Linked DNA regions of Homo sapiens: all the other regions are linked to region 2. Evidence: promoter capture Hi-C in 16 types of primary human blood cells and fetal thymus (Javierre and others, 2016). All regions are on one chromosome and are shown on one strand. The core of a region is centred on a gene start or on the middle of the fragment in contact, and the rest is flanking DNA. Distances in the headings are between cores, read along the strand shown. Region 1 overlaps HEBP1 (heme binding protein 1). Region 2 holds the start of DDX47 (DEAD-box helicase 47). Region 3 holds the start of FAM234B (family with sequence similarity 234 member B). Region 4 overlaps GPRC5D-AS1 (GPRC5D and HEBP1 antisense RNA 1).

Region 1 (2,700 bases), core at 8-2,507, 170 kb before region 2:
ACAACCACACCTGGCTGATGGTACATTTTTAAGCTTTTATTAATCTGTGAATTTCTTTACCAACACAACTTTACATTCTTCCTTTCCATCTGTGGATCATTTGTCTTCTTATTATCTGTACTGGATTTTGCTGATTATATTTCCGTGACATTTTACCACATCCCTCTGAGCCCCGTATTGCCTGTAAATTAGTAGTTGAAACTAAAGACTAGATCAGATTCAAGTTTTTGAAGTTTTGGTGAGAATATTTCCTACGTGGTGGTGTTTACTTCCTTCAGGGGCCCACAGTGTCTGATTGTCCCTGATTGAGTGATGTTGGTGACCATAGTTCATCATTGCCTAGATGTCTTGTTCCATTAGAGGCCATAAAACGATAATGTTCTCTGTTTCTCCTTCTTCTTTTATTACCTGCAATATTTCAGTAAAGAGAAACTTCCCCTCGTTTACTATTTGGCTTCCTTTATTTCATATAGAAAAAGCCAGATACATGCTTACTTGATACCTTCTCTTTATTTACCAGTTTTCAGAATGATAATTTCATTCTGTAACATCCTCAAGGTAAAGTGGTCTGCATCTTCGTTTTTTGAGTGTAATTATAAACATATGAATTTAAACATATTTGATACGTTTCAGTTTGTTACAGATATTATTCTTATTGATGCTCTAATTGCCCCACTGTTGGCCAGCGGGAGCCTCTTCAAGTTGGTTTGTTGGTCCTTTTGACACAGCTCCAGTAGTCGTTGATGGCTCCCTGGCTTGCTGGTATAATGAGATGTTTTGAGCACATCTTAGCATTTCTTGCCCTAGAGCTAGAATTAGCCATTTCTCTAAGGAACGCTGGTTTCTTATGGTGGGAAGGGGTATACGGGTACTATCAAAGGCAGGTCGGTGACCATTTCCTTTTAATTCTCTGAAATCTAAACAGCTGAAAGTGCCAAATGTGGTGTCTAGCCTGGCTCCATGGAATTTTTAACACGGAGTTCTCACACAGCATATGATCATTCCTCAACTCGCCACTTGATGTCACTGCATAGTCAAATGAGCATTCAAAATTACCCTGCAGTGGTTTGTGTTATTTCTGATTCTGTTGAAAGCAATGTTAATGAGATGGTAGAAGGCAAATGTACTACTTCAAATGCAAAAGTACTCTATCAAATAATGCAGTGAGTGCATTCAATGACAAAATTAATTCTAAAATGAAAGCCTGGCGTCCTTCATTCAGTCTTCCTTCTTTATGACCTTGTGAAGAGATGTTTACAAAGGGATTATACATTTATTAGCATCGTTAATTACCGGTGCTTTTAGATGAATAGAATGCTGTGAAAAAAAATAGCACTATCAGAATATGTTTAGTATTCACAAGAGGCAATAGAATTATCCTCACACTTAGACCAGCAGCAACATTCCAGACTACTGTCCTTTCTCTATGCACTTAAGTTAGAGTTTGGCCTTTTCAGCTCATTTCAGCACCAGGTTCTCAATAGGGACCAACAGCAGGAGAAGTTTGATGGTCTTAATGAAACTTTCACGGTTTAAATGAAATGTCTAGATATAAAGGAAAAAGTTGGAAACCAGGAGTTTATTTTCAGGGTAACCTATGCTCCAACCCAGTTCATCATTCAGTGGCCATAGGACCTTTGGTATATTGCCAGCCTCACTGTACCTCAGTTTCCTCATCTGTAAGATGGGCATGAGTACCTAGCTTTTATGGTGTTGTGAGGATAAAATATGATAATACCTGTAAATACCTACTCAATCCTAGACATGAGGTAGACACTCAGTAAATGTTAGCCTATTCTCCTCCTCCTAACTTCACCTCCCTTTGAGAATTTGATCAAGTTTTATTAGAATTAACAATAAAAAAGTCAAAGTTACTGCAGATACACTTGGGTTAGAACCTCAGCTCCAATAATTATGAATTTTGTAACTTGCAGCAAGTTGTTTAATCTTTCTGAGCCTCAGTTTTCTCATCTATAAAATAAGATTTCTAAGGCATGATTGCAAAGGCCGGTTTCATTGTGCATTTGAAAGAACTTTGTCAGCTGTCAGCACCTAGGTTGCTGATGTCATTTTTCCCTCTAAATGACCAGGCCCCAATGGAGGCCATTGGCAGCTTGGGAAGTTCCGCCTAGAGAAAGAGAAGTTTGGAAGAAAGAGCTCAACTGCTAAACTCTTAGGGGGTTCCCACATTACCACTTAGGAGATTTACAGACCAGTGTTTGCCCATGTTCCTAGATAATTCAACCCTGTTTGTAACCACAGGAAGTTGGGACCAAGGGTTTTCAGTCTTAGCACCCTGCTTTGCCCCCTCACTTTGATTAAAAGGGGCCTTGTCCAGCCGTTCTATTGAAAATAGCACCCTGTCCTTTTCTGTCCTCTTATCCAGCTTTATTTTGCTTTGCTTCACTTATAATCAATTGCATTATATATCTCTATCTGCTCATTTATTTATTGCCCTCTCCCCACTAGAATGCAAGCTTCCCAAGGGCAGGGCCTTTGGCTAGAATATAACAAGTGTTCAATAAGAAGCTGTTGAATTGGCCATCACAGTGGCTGACATCTGTAATTCTAGTACTTTGGGAGGCCAAGGCAGGTGGATCACCTGAGCTTAGGAGTTCGAGACCAGCCTGGGCAACATAATGAGACCCCGTCTCTAAATAAAAAACAAAAACAAGTTGGTGAATGGATACATGAACAAAA
Region 2 (2,700 bases), core at 45-2,544:
CAGTTCCAGTAGCCATCAATCTGCTTTAACCACTGTTTTACAAATCTGATAAACATGGCTCACAGCAAGAATTCTCAACTCCTCAAGACACACATATGTGTTCCAGGCATCCTTCCCTAAGTGTGCGCCCACTGATGCATAAAGTCTACCAAGATTGTCGTTAATATACTTTAACTTTAACCTAGGGCTTCCTTAAAGTCAGCATCTGTGGCAGAGAACAAACCCTTTCAGCTATTAAGACAGAAAGTAAGCTCAGTAAAATTGGAGAATGACATTTTCAAATACCATTACCCAAACTTTGTACCTTTAGTGACCATATCCTTATTTCACTTGAAGTATGCAAGCAACAGCTTTCAAAAGGGGTATCTAATTGAGATAACTTTATATTAAATCTGTACGAAGTCATACAACCTACCTTGTAAGGCCAAAGGAATAGCTTCAATCTGGATCTTGGTGGGTTTTGTCCATCCCAACTGGTCACAAGCTTCACACAACACATCTGTCACACCCTTGGAATTCAGAAAAATATACCTTAGCCAAGAACAGCACACCCCTACCTCCCTCCTACTTAACTGACTGTCAGACCCATCATGTACAACCATTGTATTTGATTTAAAAGGTATTTACTGTGCATCTCAGAGCCTACTCTTTAACTATACCATGAGACAGTAGCTCAAGACTTAACGAACACTTTCTGCTCACCAAGGCCAAGGCCAGGTGCTTTACATGTATCATCTCATTTAATCGTCACAACAATTCTGCGAGGTAAGTACTTATTACTATCCCCAATTTACAGATGTGGAAAGAGAAACACAGAGAGGTAACAACTTGTCCTCAGTAAGAGACTGTGTCAAAATTCAAATCTGGTTGGTTCATCTGACTCCAAAGCTCCAGTTATAAAGAGACCAATTCCATTCCCCATATGTACAACCTCCTGGATGCACATACAAACGTTGCCACACTAAAGTGGCGAATAGGGCAAATAGGGGGTCTCAGGGCCCAGCAGCCCTCCCACCACCCAAACTCAGAGCACGTCCGAAACCCAGCCCTCTGAAATTCTGGGGAAAACCCAAGCTAGGCCCCAAGATGCTTTTGTACACTATCAGAGCGGGATCTAAGGTACCTGGGGTCTCCCTGAGCCTAGCACCAGAGTACATAAAAGAAGCCAGCGTCATCCATTCTCACCAGGTCTTTAAATGTTTTAGTTTCCTCCTCTTCCACAATCGGCTGGGACGCTTCGGTCGGAGAATCGTGTTCCTCGGGTGCCGCCATCTTGTGTGAGGTCTCCGGAAGTGGGTCTGCGGCGCGCGGGATGCTGGGAAATGTAGTTTTAGTTCTCCCCGGACGACGTGCTCTGCGCGCCCCCTGCGGGCTTGCCGGGGATTGCACCCGTCCGCTAGGCAGGTGGGGCCCAGTGAATATGGGCGCGTAGGCTTGCGGAATAGATCCGAGTGCAGAAGGGGCTGATCACCAGGGACTCCAGTTGACCTTTAGGTCCCTTTTAAAGAGCCTTCCCTACGTGTGTCGCCAGTTATGTTCCCCGCTTTTCTAACCATAGAGTTTGGAACGGATTGATATTACAATACTATTTTTTTATTATGTCATTACTTTATTCAATAATGTTGAGAACCTACCATTTGCTAAGGCTATGCTAGATGGCTGGTGAATAGGACAGCGACCCCTGCCCTCGTGAAGAAAAAGAAGACAGATCATAAATAAGCTATCACAGAGCATTTCAAATTGTGAAAAGTAGCTGGGTGTGCTCACGCCTGTAACCCCAGCACTGTGGGAGGACGAGGCGGGCGGATCACTTGAGCCCAGGAGTTCGAGACCAGCCTGGGCAACGTGGCGAAACCCTGTGTCTGCAAAATGCAAAAATCAGTCAGGCATGCATGGTGGCATGCGCCTGTAATCCCAGCTATTCAGGGGGCTGAGGTTGAGGGATCAGTTGACCCCGGAAGTTGAGGCTGCAGTGAGTGGAGATGGTGCTACTGTACTCCAGCCTGGGCAACAGAGTGAAACCCTGTTCACATAAAAATTACAGAGTAACCTGGGGAGGGTGGGTTGTGGGGATAACTGTGAGATTGGGAAGGCCTCTCTGAGACAGTGATATTTGAGTTAAGACCTCACTGTTGAGCAGGAGAAAACGCTTTAAGATCCCAGGAGATAATCATTCCAGAGTGAGAGAATTCCAAGTACCAAGACTGTGAAGCTACTAAGGCTATTCTGGAAAGCAGCAAATTCAGAGCTGTATGTTGCATGCCCCATGGCCAGCGAGTGCCCTCCTGTGGCCTGTCACTTGGGTCTCACACTGCGCAGGGTGCTCGTTGCAGTTTTATTCCTGAGGATGGGAAGTTGGGGGCAATCTGGTGTCCGTCACTGGGAAAATGCATAGTTAAAATGTGAACATGGTGTCTACAAACATGCCCTTAACAATATGATTAGATCTGAAAAACCTAGTGCTTAGTGAGAAAAGCATAAAATATATCAAGTATATTAAAATATAGGCCCACAGATATCACATTCTGCTAAAACACATCCAACAGAAGATACACTTGAAATATTTTAGAATGGTTGCCTGCAGAGGGAGAAGAATTAGAATAAAACTGGGAATTGGGAATAAAAGAATTAAGTGTATAAGACAATAGGCCGGCCGCGGTGGCTCACACCTGTATCTTAGCACTTTGGGAGGCCAAGGCA
Region 3 (2,700 bases), core at 42-2,541, 230 kb before region 2:
GTAGAGCCATCAATTTTTCTAAAGCCTAATGTTTAAAATTTACTTGGGTGGAATAAATATACTTTTATTTAAATATCAACTTTCTAACAGTACAATCCTACTCTGGAGGTTTAGGAGGAAAAAAAAAAAAAAAGGAAAAAAAACTTGGAGCTGCTGCCCGAAGTACTGAATCAGCTCTGGAAGTTGTCATCACCCCTAATGCTGCCTTAAAGAAGATTCCATACATTATCTTCAACTTATAGGTGCCAAATCATTTCCCATGCTTAATCTCGGCAGCTGGAGACTGACCAAGTGGAATCAAAAGCTCAGGATTTAGAGTGAAAAGACCCCTGACGTTCAAGGCCGAGCTTTCCCAATACTTGTGAGACCTTGGACAATTCACTTAGCCAAATAACTCTCATTTTCTCTTCTGTAAACTAGGAAGGGACGTAAATACCTGTCCCACCTGCCTCATGGATGCGTCGTTGCTGCCGTTAGGTGGAGGGGATGATCCACAGAGGGCCACTCGCCGTCCCGCCGCCCCCGCCCAGGTCCAGCCAAGACAGAAGGCGCCGGAGTCCCTGCGGTGCTGGGTCCGCGGCGCTCGGGAAGGATGCTCCTCTCGCCAGCCTCCCCTCGGGACAGCGGCGACCGGCGTTCTGACATTCCCCGCCGTAACACCTGCTCGGCGCCCTCTCCCCGCGCGTCTCCGGGTTCGCCCCGCGCCCGAGACCCCTGCCCCGCTGGGCGCCCCTCTCGCCCTCTGGTGGCACAGAGACCCCAGCCCCAAGGGACTGCACCCTCCTCGGCACCGGGCGCCTGCAGCTGAGTCTGGGTTGAGGCCAGGGCCCGACCGGCCTCGCCCCCAGAGCCTCGCCTCCCCTTATTCCAACACCGGCGGGGACTGGGTGGTCGCAAGCATGCGACTCCTTACCCGGCAGCTTGAGCGCCCTGGACAGCACGGTCGCCATGGCTGAGGCCCCGGTGCGCGTGCGCGCGCCCGCGTTCTGCCGGGAAGTGTAGTTCCGAGCGGCGGTGCGTGGGGCTGGGACCGGGAAAGGTGGGACCCGCTTGCTGGGGACAGAGCTGAGGGAGGCCAAGCCAGAGTACACGCTCCGCAGGCTTTTCTCCCACCCTACCTATGCAGGTCACCTCACCACTCTGAGTCTCACTTGCCTCGTCAGTGAAATGGGGAGAAAATACCCCGTAAGCTTGCAGTGAAAATGATTCGAAGGAGATATTTAAGGAGGTGTGGATTGTGCAATGTGCGTGGGCTTTGAAATCAGGCAGACTGGATTTGAATCCTGCCTGAATCACTTACTAGCTGGGCCATCTTGGGCAAGTCCCTTGGGGCGACTGAGCTGCCGCTGCTTTTTTTTAATTAAAGACATACTACCTACTTCACAAGCTTGCAATGAGAATTAAATGATACGACCTGTTTAAAACACACAGCACACAGTAGGCACCTAGTAAGAGTGTTTCTATTACGCTTCTTAGGTAGAAGTTGAAGTTTCCTGGAGCTCGAACCCTCATTTATTGCTCCCAGTTCTTTACAGGTGTCTACTCAGCACCCTACGCTGCAGCTTCTAGTTGAAGGGTGTAGAAGGAGGATCCGACTGTGTACATACATCCAATAGATGCAGCATCTCCAGCTCCTCAGATTTCAATGCTTGACCTTTAAGGCATCTGCACGCTCCCCGTAATCACCCCAGCTTTGCCTGAATGATTTTTGCGGAGAGCCCGATGCCCAGGAATTCCTCCTTCCTTGGCTCCCTGAGCTTTCCCCCACTTTGTCTTCCTTGTCCCTCTGGAAATCTCCTTCATCCCTCCATAACTTTTTTCCATTTTAACATAGGAACTGCAGCTTAGAATAGTATTTCTCAAATTTAATGTACTTTCTTTTCAATTAAAGAAAAAAATTCAAAGCAGCTGCCAAATGAATCAGGATCCTTACCTTTTACATAGAGAATACCTGTGTGTTCCTCTCTAGCTACTGAGTGGAATGTGAATACTTTTGCTGCCCAAACACCCACTGAGGTCACTGTGGAAAATGCAAACACCCAGGCCCTCTCTGACTTCTGAACTTGGCTTGCCTCAGGACCAGGCACAGTGGTGTAGAAGGAAGAACTGACTTGCTTCTTTCCCACACGCAAGTGATCAGCATTTTAGTGCAGGAATGCTAATACTGTGTTATCTTAGAACTGGAACAGATCCTAGAGGCTATCTAGTCCCACTCTCCTTGTTTTGTTTAAGAGAAAGCTGAGAAATAGAAAGGTAATGTAACTTCTGAGTGTCACAACAAAAGCTCCAAGATACATCTCATTTGCAGGCTGCCTAATTCCCGTGAGAAACTGCAGACAGGACTATCCTGTGGGAGTAATCTGAGAGTCTCCAGCAATCAGTCTCACCTCCTTTCTTCCCTTGGAAAAAAAAAATGTCATTGTCTCTGATAGAGCACAGGCTCTGGAGCCAGGAGCCAGGCCTCCCGAGATCAAATCCTGACTCTATCATTTCCTAGATGCCAGGCAGAGGGTTAGTTGCTTAATTTCTCCCCACCTCAATTTTCTCATCTGCAAAATGGGGACAAAACAGTTCCTAGTTTATAGAGTTCTCCTGAGAATTAAATATATATGTAGAAAGCACTTACAACAGTGCCTGGCACTTAGTGTTTTCTAAGTATTCACTCTTCTTTTATCGATAATTTCTTAATGTTTTAACAAT
Region 4 (2,700 bases), core at 144-2,643, 190 kb before region 2:
TCAAATGAAGGATTGCATTCATTTTGCCCCTTGTAGGTATAGGTACTCTTCTTTTCTCATCTACTGTCTTTCTGTCTCCTTAGCTCATACTTATTACACAGTTCGTTTAAAATATATATAGCTGCAAGGAGACATTTTCTGTTCCCTTACCTGCCCTTCATGTCTACCACTTTTTGGTGGGTAGGGGTGGGAGTCAGGGGACAGAACTGCTTTGGCACAGAGTTGATTTAAGATACAGAGAACAGGCTGGGCACAGTGGCTCACACCTGTAATCTCAGCACTTTGGGAGTCCAAGGCAGGTGGATCAACTGAGATCAGGAGTTTGAGACCAGCCTGGCCAACATGGTGAAACTCCTTCTCTACTAAAAATACGAAAATTAGCCAGGTGTGGTGGCAGGTGCCTGTAATCTCAGCTACTTGGGAGGCAGAGGCAGGAGAATTGCTTAAACCCAGGAGGCAGAGGTTGCAGTGAGCCGAGATCGCACCACTGCACTCCAGCCTGGGAGACAGGATGGGTGAGACACTGCCTCAAAATAAAAAATAAAAATAAATACAGAGAACAAATTTCTAGAAGGAACAGACTGGTGTTCTGGAGCATTTCCCAGGAGTGGTCCAGGTGACCTCCACTTCACACAATTTGGTTTAACACAATGCTGCTCAACAAGAATGAACACGTTTATGCCCCCATCTCCAGAAGCATCACAACCTTTCATGGAAAACCCATTATTCCCACACTATTTCCATATAACATACAGTTATGGACCATCCCATGGGATGGTCCATGGCCCCACTGCACCCTTGTGAAAAATGAGAGTCAAAAACATGCCAATAATCATGTTAATGACAATACAGGTGGGTACCACTCGCACTTCACTGAGATAAAAATCCTCATGGAAGGCATCCCCCTCACGTCTCAGGACCCTTCAGAGCACAAGAAAAAGCTTTGTTCAGGTTGTATGCTGCTCTCCATCCTGAGACCTGTTCCTGAGCCACACCATAACAATAAGTGAATTAACAAAGAAGTACATTTGTGGGGAAGTTACAGGGACCCTGCAGAAAAGCCAAACTATTTGACAGAAGCTTGAAACAAACACTGCTCTGGGAAATCATTTGTATTAGCTGATGACTGGGCTCTGTTTTCTAAAATGGACATGCAACATATTCGATACTATGCTTACCACAGTTTGCTTGGTAAACCCTTCTGTCATACAACAAAATACATTCTTTCTCATGAATGATTGCTGAATATTCACCACGAGACCTAGACTCGGAAGCATGGAAAGTGTGCATTGGAACTTTCTCCCACTTGCATGGATTTGGACATGTGCTAAGAACCTGAAACTGCTTCCTTTCTGGAACTCAATTCTGTCAGTGTGCTTACTGCTGAGATGATCTGCTATCTTAAACTGAGAACACACAATAACACTGATCCACAGAAAAAAGGAGAGGTCACCATCTCCCTCATAAGATATGTTGTACATCAGGTCATGCTGTTTGTCACGTTTTAGCCATCCTAAGAAAGGACAGAAGCTGCATTCCATTCTGCAGTCTTGGCAAATGACTTTCTTCTGTTTCCACCTCTATTTTGCCTTGTTTATTTCATCTCCATTATCCCTCTTTCAGTCATGAATCATGACTTTTTTTTCTACAGTAGTCAGAGTTTTGTAGGACAAACTCAGGTCTCTCTGGCCTCTCAGCAAGCTTCAGGGCTTCATGCATGCCTGCAGCTGAGAGTGTCTGGTTGATATTCTGGTACTGGCACTGGAGCCGGCTGCAATAGGTGGTCCTCAGGTCCCAGTTGAAGAAGGCATAAATAAAAGGGTTAATGAGAGAGTTTGCATAGCCCAGCCATGGAAATATCCTCTCCACCCACAGTGGGATGCAGCTGCAGGCAGTGCCATAGACAGAAGGGTCTGGCTGTCAGGAGGAAAAAGGGCGGCCAGCACATGGTGGAGGCCCAGACGATGATCCCCAAGGTAGTCGCTGCTTTCTGTTTCCGCTTAAAGATGGAGATATTTTTTCCTTTCATGCTTGAGGAGTCTCGAAAGGTTTGCACACTCTTCCACCTCCTGGAACTTCACTGTGCCATTCAGGGTGACTACTGCTGTCTGGCTCCACTCGAGGGAAGCCAGGTAACCTGTGTTAGGCCGCGCTTTTCCTGGCGGCCTTGTAAATCTGTTAGTACATGAAAAGCATGACGCACATGGGGATTAGGATGCCACTGCGGTGGAGTAAATCGTGTAGCCAAAGTCTTGACTGACCAAGCACACCTTATCATCGTTTACATTCTGAGCCCGACCAAAAATGGTAGGTAAAGTGACAAAGGCGGAAAGAAGGCAGACAGAAAGAATCATCTTCGTCATGCATTTCCCCTTCTGCCTCATAGGGTACGTGAGAGGCTTCATGATCCCAAGGTACCTGTCGATGCTGATCACGTACAAGGTCAAGATCCAGGCCGTGCAGCACATGACATTCATGGAGAAGACGTTACAGAAAAAGTGTCCAAAGATCCACTTGCCCCCGATGAGGTCGGTGACACTGATGAAGGGCATGACCGCCATGGCCACCGAGAGGTTGGCCAGCGCCATGGACACGATCAGGTAGTTGGAGGGCTGGCGGAGCTTCTTGACGAAGCACACGGAGATACCACCAGGCAGTTGCCCGCGATCGCAGAGAGATGAGCGTCAGGACAGAGCCGAT

The links. Contacts are between HindIII fragments. The CHiCAGO score rates a contact against its expected background, and 5 or more counts as called.
Region 1: a fragment that was not itself captured here is called in contact with the fragment with the promoter of DDX47 in region 2 in 3 of 17 cell types (endothelial precursors, megakaryocytes and naive CD4 T cells); the score reaches 9.9 in endothelial precursors.
Region 3: a fragment that was not itself captured here is called in contact with the fragment with the promoter of DDX47 in region 2 in 2 of 17 cell types (total CD8 T cells and naive CD4 T cells); the score reaches 5.8 in total CD8 T cells.
Region 4: a contact is called between a fragment that was not itself captured here and the fragment with the promoter of DDX47 in region 2, in 1 of 17 cell types (naive CD4 T cells). The highest score is 5.7, in naive CD4 T cells.

The regions. Positions count from the first base shown.
Region 1 is chr12:12,981,961-12,984,660 of GRCh38, reverse strand. The region is part of intron 3 of HEBP1 (heme binding protein 1); the gene reads left to right. All of the region lies in intron 2 of GPRC5D-AS1 (GPRC5D and HEBP1 antisense RNA 1), which reads right to left. Among named protein-coding and RNA genes, the nearest start is that of HEBP1, 17 kb to the left of the region's middle. The HindIII fragment of the contact is 2,444 bases long and covers 36-2,479 here.
Region 2 is chr12:12,811,940-12,814,639 of GRCh38, reverse strand. It overlaps DDX47 (DEAD-box helicase 47), which reads right to left and starts at 1,294. Exons shown (of 12, transcript NM_016355.4): 1 at 1,186-1,294; 2 at 416-509. The coding sequence starts at 1,272. RefSeq lists an enhancer at 1,158-1,467. The HindIII fragment of the contact is 15,992 bases long and covers 487-2,700 here.
Region 3 is chr12:13,042,654-13,045,353 of GRCh38, reverse strand. It overlaps FAM234B (family with sequence similarity 234 member B), which reads right to left and starts at 973. Exons shown (of 13, transcript NM_020853.2): 1 at 914-973. The coding sequence starts at 950. The HindIII fragment of the contact is 197 bases long and covers 1,193-1,389 here.
Region 4 is chr12:13,001,754-13,004,453 of GRCh38, reverse strand. All of the region lies in intron 2 of GPRC5D-AS1 (GPRC5D and HEBP1 antisense RNA 1), which reads right to left. It also overlaps the pseudogene HTR7P1. Among named protein-coding and RNA genes, the nearest start is that of HEBP1, 2.8 kb to the right of the region's middle. RefSeq lists an enhancer at 2,125-2,670. The HindIII fragment of the contact is 621 bases long and covers 1,083-1,703 here.